2 separate regions of the Homo sapiens genome follow, and region 2 is linked to region 1. Evidence: promoter capture Hi-C in human tissues and cell types (Jung and others, 2019). All regions are on one chromosome and are shown on one strand. Each heading gives the region's core, a stretch centred on a gene start or on the middle of the fragment in contact. The rest is flanking DNA. Distances are from core to core; before and after follow the strand shown. Region 1 holds the start of CATSPER1 (cation channel sperm associated 1). Region 2 overlaps LOC124902693.

The links. Contacts are between HindIII fragments. The study calls those that stand out against the background at their distance.
Region 2: a contact is called between a fragment that was not itself captured here and the fragment with the promoter of CATSPER1 in region 1, in 1 of the 25 tissues and cell types used here (spleen).

Annotation. Positions count from the first base shown.
Region 1 is chr11:66,025,229-66,028,801 of GRCh38, forward strand. It overlaps CATSPER1 (cation channel sperm associated 1), which reads right to left and starts at 1,251. Exons shown (of 12, transcript NM_053054.4): 1 at 1-1,251. The coding sequence starts at 1,151. The HindIII fragment of the contact is 11,043 bases long and covers 1-3,573 here.
Region 2 is chr11:65,806,167-65,809,739 of GRCh38, forward strand. The region is part of intron 3 of LOC124902693; the gene reads right to left. Among named protein-coding and RNA genes, the nearest start is that of OVOL1-AS1, 17 kb to the left of the region's middle. The HindIII fragment of the contact is 6,595 bases long and covers 1-3,573 here.

The DNA of each region.
Region 1 (3,573 bases), core at 1-2,500:
TGGGTATGGACTTTTTTGGACATCTGGGTGACACGTGAGCGGATTGTGCTGGAGGACCGAGTCATGCTGTGAGCCGAGCCCCGTGGGTGTGCTACGTGATAGGGGAAGACTCCTGTACGAGAAGCAGCAGGGCCGGGGGCATCGTGAATCAGGCTCCGGGATGTGTGTGGGATAGAGAGTTGGGAAGTGCTCTGGACGTAGTCGCCATGGAGGTAACTGGAATGATACGCGCCGTGGTGGTCTTGGTGCTGATGGTAGTCTCGGTGCCGGTGGGTCTGGTGGTAGTGGTGCTGTGTGTGGTGGGGATGGTCGCCATGGTGGTACTCACTGGGGTGGTGATCACCTTGGTGGTACTCGCTGTGATAGTCAGATATCCCACGCTGGTAGGACCCCACAGAGGAATGAGGGGAAATGGTCTCTCCGTGATGAGGAGACTTTCCATGCTGGTGGGCTTCATGATGACGGGACCTGCCATGGTGGTGGACTTGGTGATGGTGGGGCCAGCCACGGTGGGGGACTTGGTGATGCTGGGACTCATCGTGTTGGAGCCCGCTAAGGTGGGAAGCCTCGCTGTGGTGGAAGGACTCACTGTAGGGATTGGGTCCATGGGGGAGGTAGGACCCACCATGGTGGGAAGCCTCACCGTGGTGGGGCACGCCAGAGGAATAGTGGGATAAATTCTCACCGAGATATTGGGGTCTGCCATGGTGAGACCCCCTATGGTAATGGGAGTCACTCTGCTGATGGAACCCACCGTATTGGGACCCATCATGATGCCTCCTGCCATCACGTTGGAGCTCATCATGGTAGTCCTCACCGTAGGAACGGTGGGAGGGGACGGCGCCTTGAGAGGGAGCCAGACCAAAGCCTGTGGGGCCATGGGCTCTGCCGTGATTCCGTGCCTCGCTGTGGTGGTGAGATTGGTGGACATGGGAGGACAAGGCTTGGTCGTGGAAGTCTTGGAACTCCGGAGGGTGGTGAGATTCACCACGTTGGTGGGGCACGCCGTGATGGTGCAACTCGTAATGGTGGAGAGCTCTGCTGTGGCCTGGCCTGTGGTGTGGGGGTGATGAGTGAGAGCGAAAGAACCTATCTGCGTTATTGGTGTCTGCCTCATTCTGAGCCTTTTCAGGCACTGAGTTTTGATCCATGACTGTGCTGGGAACTCTGGAGCCAAAAGAGCTCAAGACCTGGGCCCAACAGGCCCCGCCTGGATTTCCCTTCTTTCCTGAGCCAAGCTCAATGCAGACTGTGGCACTGGGCTTCCAGAAAGGCCTGACTATTCTCGTGGAACTCTCCCCTCTATGATGTCACCAGCAGGCCAGGGCCTCATTCCCAAATGCCTCTTCCTGGGCTATAGTTCGGAATCAAGAATTATTGTGTCAAACTCCTTCATTGTAAATGAGGAAACCGAGGTCAAGAAAAGGGAAGGACTAGACCAAGGTGACCTCACAGGTCACTGGCAAAGCTGGACAAAGAAGTCCATGGGGGCGCCATGGCTTCATCAGCTACTTTAGCCCTGTTGTTGGAAAGAAAATGGTCCAAGTGGTCCAGTCTTCAGTCCCATCTAGAGATCAGCTGGCTCTGGGGTGAAGACTGCCTGACTCCCTCATAAGTAGGTGTGTGACCTTGGGCTTGTTGCTGAACTTTCCCGTGCCTCAGTTTCTTCCTCTGTAAAATGGGAATAATAATACCTAGCCCACAGGATCAAAAAAGTTAAGATATGTAAGCCTTATATTAACAGCATAATACATGGTTTTTGTTGTTGTTGTTGTTGTTTGTTTCTTTGTTTGTTTTTGAGATGGAGTCTCGCTCTGTCGCCCAGGCTGGAGTGCAGTGGCACGATCTTGACTCACTGCAACCTCCACCTCCCAGCTTCATGCCATTTTCCTGCCTCAGCCTCCCAAGTAGCTGGGACTACAGGCGCCCACCACCACGCCCGGCTAACTTTTTCTATTTTTAGTAGAGACGGGGTTTCACCATGTTAGCCAGAATGGTCTTGATCTCCTGACCTCGTGATCCGCCTGCCTTGCCCTTCCAAAGTGTTGGGATTACAGGTGTGAGCCACTGCGCCCAGCCCATGTTTTTTTGTTTTTGTTTTTGTTTTTTGAGACAGTCTCACTGTCACCCAGGCTGGAGTGCAGCGGCATGATCTCCACTCATGGCAATCTCTGCCTCCCAGGTTCAAGTGAGCCTCCTGCCTTAGCCCCCTGAGTAGCTGGGATTACAGCCACCCACCACCATACCCCACCCCGGCTAATTTTTTTTTTTTTTTTTTTGAGACAGAGTCTTACTCTGTCACTAGGCTGGAGTGCCGGGGTGCAATCTTGGCTCACTGCAATCTCTGCCTCCTGGGTTCAGGCAATTCTCCTGCCTCAGCTTTCCTAGTAGCTGCGACTACAGGTGCACACCACACCCAGCTAATTTTTGTATTTTTAGTAGAGACGGGGTTTCACCATGTTGACGAGGCTGCTCTTGAACTCCTGACCTCAAATGATCCACCCACCTCGCACTCCCTAAGTGCTGGGATTTCAGGTGTGAGCCACCATGCCTGGCCAATACATGTTAATTGGCATTATTATTCTCTTCTTGATCTTGGAACCCCCCTTTAGGGTTATTACCAAAATTAAACTATCAGCCATCATTTATTGAGGATTGCTTCATACACATTTTGTTTTCTTTCTTTCTTTTTTTTTTTTTGAGACACAGTCTTGCTCTGTCACCTAGGGTGGAGTGCAGTGGCATGGTCTCAGCTCACAGCAACCTCCACCTCCTGAATTCAAGCAATTCTCCTGCCTCAGTCTCCCAAGTAGCTGAAAGTACAGGCGTGCACCACTACGCCCAGCTAACTTCTTTTGTATTTTAGTAGAGATGGGGTTTCACCCTGTTGGTCAGGCTGGTCTCGAACTCCTGATCTCAAACGATCTGCCCGCCTCGACAACCCAAAGTGCTGGGATTACAGGCATGCGCCACCGTGCCCGGCCCATACACATTAAATTTAATCCTCACAATAGCCCCACATGGTAGATATTGTTTATCCCCATTTGACAGACAAAGGTGCTATGGCTCAGAGAATATAAATGAGTTGCTTGATGAATGAAAACTTACCGTCAGTGCTATCTCACTCCAAGTCTGTATCTGTAACCTTCATGCTGTCCTGTCTTCCTCCTGGAATCCACTGCAGAGCTTGCCCTGTATGCTGAATTCATATGTGCACAGCGCAGCTCTTCTGGAAGCTTATGGGTCTCAGCTTCTTGAGTGCTTGGTCAGAGCCATGTCCATAGTGGCTGCTGGGTTCCCAGTGATGAAAGAGACACGGCTCCTGTTTTAAGGAGCTCACTATCTGTTGCCAGCAGCAGACAAAGAAACAATTTGTGTGGGCTGGGCATGGTGGCTCACACCTGTAATCCCAGCACTTTGGGAGGCCAAGGCGGGTGGATCGCCTGAGCTCAGGAGTTTGAGACCAGCCTGGGCAACATGGTGAAACCCTGTCTCTACTAAAATACAAAAAATTAGCTGGATGTGGTGGTGTGCGCCTGTAGTCCCAGCTGCTTGGGAACTTGGGAGGCTGAG
Region 2 (3,573 bases), core at 600-3,099, 220 kb before region 1:
ACCACTGTACCCTGTAGCCTGGACAACAGAGTGAGACCCTGTCTCAAAAAAAGAAAAACTATAATGAAATATGTGTATCTCTTAAATATGATGGCAAAAAATATTTCAGGAAAATGCTTACAATATATTAAATTTAAAAGCAGGTTCCAAAACAGTATTATGGGGTAGGCACCCTTGTCATTTTTATAAACGTAAGTCAGTCCATATGTCTGTAGTAAAAATCATGGAAGTAAAAATCTTAAATTCTTGTTCAATGGCAGAATTATGACTTTTATTTTCTTTTTTCTATATTTCGTACTTTTTTCTACAATATTCCCATATTGCTTTTGTAGTGAAATCTTCTTGATGATTTTGAAAGAGTCCTTCAGGAAGGCAATGTTGGAATAATTGGCTGCAAAAGGATGTTCTTCATTGAACAGTGAAAATTCTTGCCAATTTAGGCCGGCCGCGGTGGCTCACGCCTGTAATCCCAGCACTTTGGGAGGCCGAAGCGGGTGGATCACTTGAGGTCAGGAGTTTGAGACCAGCCTGGCCAACATGGCGAAACCCCATCTCTACTAAAAATACAAAAAAATTAGCAGGGCTTGCTGGCGGGCGCCTGTAATCCCAGCTACTCAGGAGGCTGAGGCAGGAGAATCGCTTGAACCTGGGAGGCAGAGGTTGCAGTGAGCCGAGATTGCGCCACCGCCCTCCAGCCTGGGTGACAGAGTGAGACCATGTCTCAAAAAAAAAAAAAAAAAAAAAACATTGCCCATTTGATGGTTATAGAAATGGGCTGGGATGGCAATGGGTGGGAGGAAGGCCGAGGGAATAAACTGCTCCAGATCCAGGAATCCTGATTTTTGATGTTACCATGAAATCTAAATGTGTAGAAAGCACAAAGAATCTGGAGTCCCCGGACACACAGTTTGAATCCTACAGCTGCTTTGAGGAAGATGCCTTAGCTTTCTGAGACTGACTGTTCATAAAGTGGAAGTAAGAGCAATGTAGGATGATGGTGAAGATTAAGATAATGAGTTGCTTTGTGAAGCAGAAAGCTCTAAACAAATGCTGGATGCAGCAGATAATAACATCCATGTCTGGTTTAGCTTCGGTAAGATGGGCGGTGGCTGCTGTAGTTGAATTTGCCCTGACTGCTGAGAACGCTGGGCACGTTGCAGCTGAGAGACAATTTTCCCATAGGGTACAGGCAAACTCTTGGATTTTCCGGTCCACAGTAATACAGAATATAAAAATAAACTAGCTGGGCACGGCGGCTCATGCCTGTAATCCCAGCAACTCGGGAGGCTGAGGCAGGAGGATCACATGAGCTCAGGAGTTTCAGACCAACATTGTGAGATCCCGTTTCTGCAAAATATTTAAAAATTAGCCAGATACAGTGGCAGGGCCTATAGTCCCAGCTACTTGGGAGGCTGAGGTGGGAGGATCACTCGAGCCCAGGAGTTTGAGGTTATAGTGAGCTATGATGACACCACAGCATTCCAGCCTGTGTGAACAGAACGAGACTCTGTCCCAGAATTTTTTTTTTTTTTTTTTTTTTTTTTTTTTGTGAGAGAGTCCTACACTGTTGCCCAGGCTGGAGTGCAGTGGCAGGATCTCGGTTCACTGCAACCTCTGCCTCCCAGGTTCAAGCAACTCTCCTGCCTCAGCCTCCCGAGTAGCTGGGATTACAGGCATGCGCAACCACGCCCGGGTAATTTTTTTTGTATTTTTTAGAGATGGGGTTTCACCATATTGGCCAGGCTGGTCTTGAACTCCTGACCTTGTGATCCGCCCACCTCAGCCTCTCAAAGTGCTGGGATTACAGGCGTGAGCCACTGCACCCGGCCTAAAAAAATTTATTTTAATTTAAAAAATTAAGTAAAAATAAACTTATTCTGAGTTCAGAGGAAGGTGTTTGGTGACCTGCTGACTACCCTTTCAGGAGTGAATATACGGCCCCTGATGAGAACCCCTGGTTAGTCGTGTGCTGAGCACTGGGAAGGAGAGAAAACGGCACAAAATGGAGACACCTGTGACCTCCTTCACCTATACCTGCTTACTGATGTTTTGGCGAAATGCTTGGGGGCTGAGTTGGGTGGACCGAGGATGCCAGAGCTTGTCATCTAAGGAGGCTGGGAGAGGCTGGGTGGTGGTTCCGGTTAGATGGGTCTCCACCCTGCACGAGATAGATGGGCAGGCTCATGAATCATGAGCCCCTCGTGTTCATAACTGATTAGCTAGTTTGTTGCGGCGCCACTCTTGACTTTCCCACAATATGGGCCCTGACATCCTCAGAGGGTACCACGTTCTTCAGTCCACCCAGATGAAATGGATTTACAAATCCAATGATGAGCTTTCTGAGTACTGACTGTGTTTGGAGACTCGTTCTTGACTGTGCCACTCCAAGTCCTTCAAATGAAAGACAATGTTCACCCTTTTTTTCCTTCCTTTTCTGCTCCTTCTAGGATACCCCTCGCCACGTTTTCTGTTTTACCTCCTTTTCTTTCAAGGAATCATTTTAATTGCTCTTCCTCTCCTTGTTCCTCAGTTTCCCTCACCTTCTCCTCATGTCCTCCTCTCTCTGCCTCTGGATCTAGCCAGCGTCTTCCTCTGTGCTCTTCATGTCACAGGCACCTGCCACCAGGAGCCACCGATGCCAGGCTGTCCTGAGCTAACGCACAGGGAGGACTGTATGACGAGGGAGTGCAGACGGCAAGACAGCCACTCAACAGCAGAATGGGGGCTGCCCTTGCCGCCCAGGCCACCCAGGCTGTGGCTCCTGAGCTGCGTGGTCCTCCCTTCATCACTCGCCCCCTCTCTGAATTCTCCCACAGCCTTTTACAATCTTTTCAAACAGCTTTTCTCCCCATACTCCTGCCAGCCCTCCTCCCCTGCCCTCCCTCCGAAGGAGCCCTTGGATTTATCCACACCTGCTGGTGCCAACATGCCCCAGACTGAACGCGCCACTCCAGGTGTGGTTTTGCCTGGTGAATGGAGAGGCACGGGGCGGCTCTGTGTCCAGAGGTGGGAGAGGCCGTCCAGGGCCAGCCTTGCACCTGGGTTCAGCCAGCGCAGCTGCCCCCAACCATGCCAGGCCGCTCTGTTGATCCCCGCTATCGAGCGGAGCGTCAGGACAGGAGCTTTTGCTGTCTCCTTCCTGCCTCAGAACCCCACCCACTATGTTTTTTCTCATCTGAATCTCAGTTCGAAATCTCCAGCCCAAGGGGTTTCCCAACACCTCCTAGTTTTGAATCAACCTGCTGATGCCAGCATTCCCAGATGAGGAATAGAGATGTGAGGTGGGACCTGGCCTGGCACTGCGTGGTGAAGACACTCCTGTACCCGCAACGGTCATCCAACTGGTGGCATCTGGACAAACAAACCCAGTCCCCTCCTTAGCTTCCATGAAGGAAAAAAACAAGTGGGTACAAGCTGAGGACACGGCTGGGAGTGGAACTGTAGGAACAAGGACTGGCCAGATGGCGACACCAAGGCGGCCATGCTCCTACCCTGAAGCCGCAGCTGCAGGTCTGGTCTGCACCAGGTGGTCCTCTCCGGCAACCAAAGAATTCTCTGCCCCCAACAGTGCCT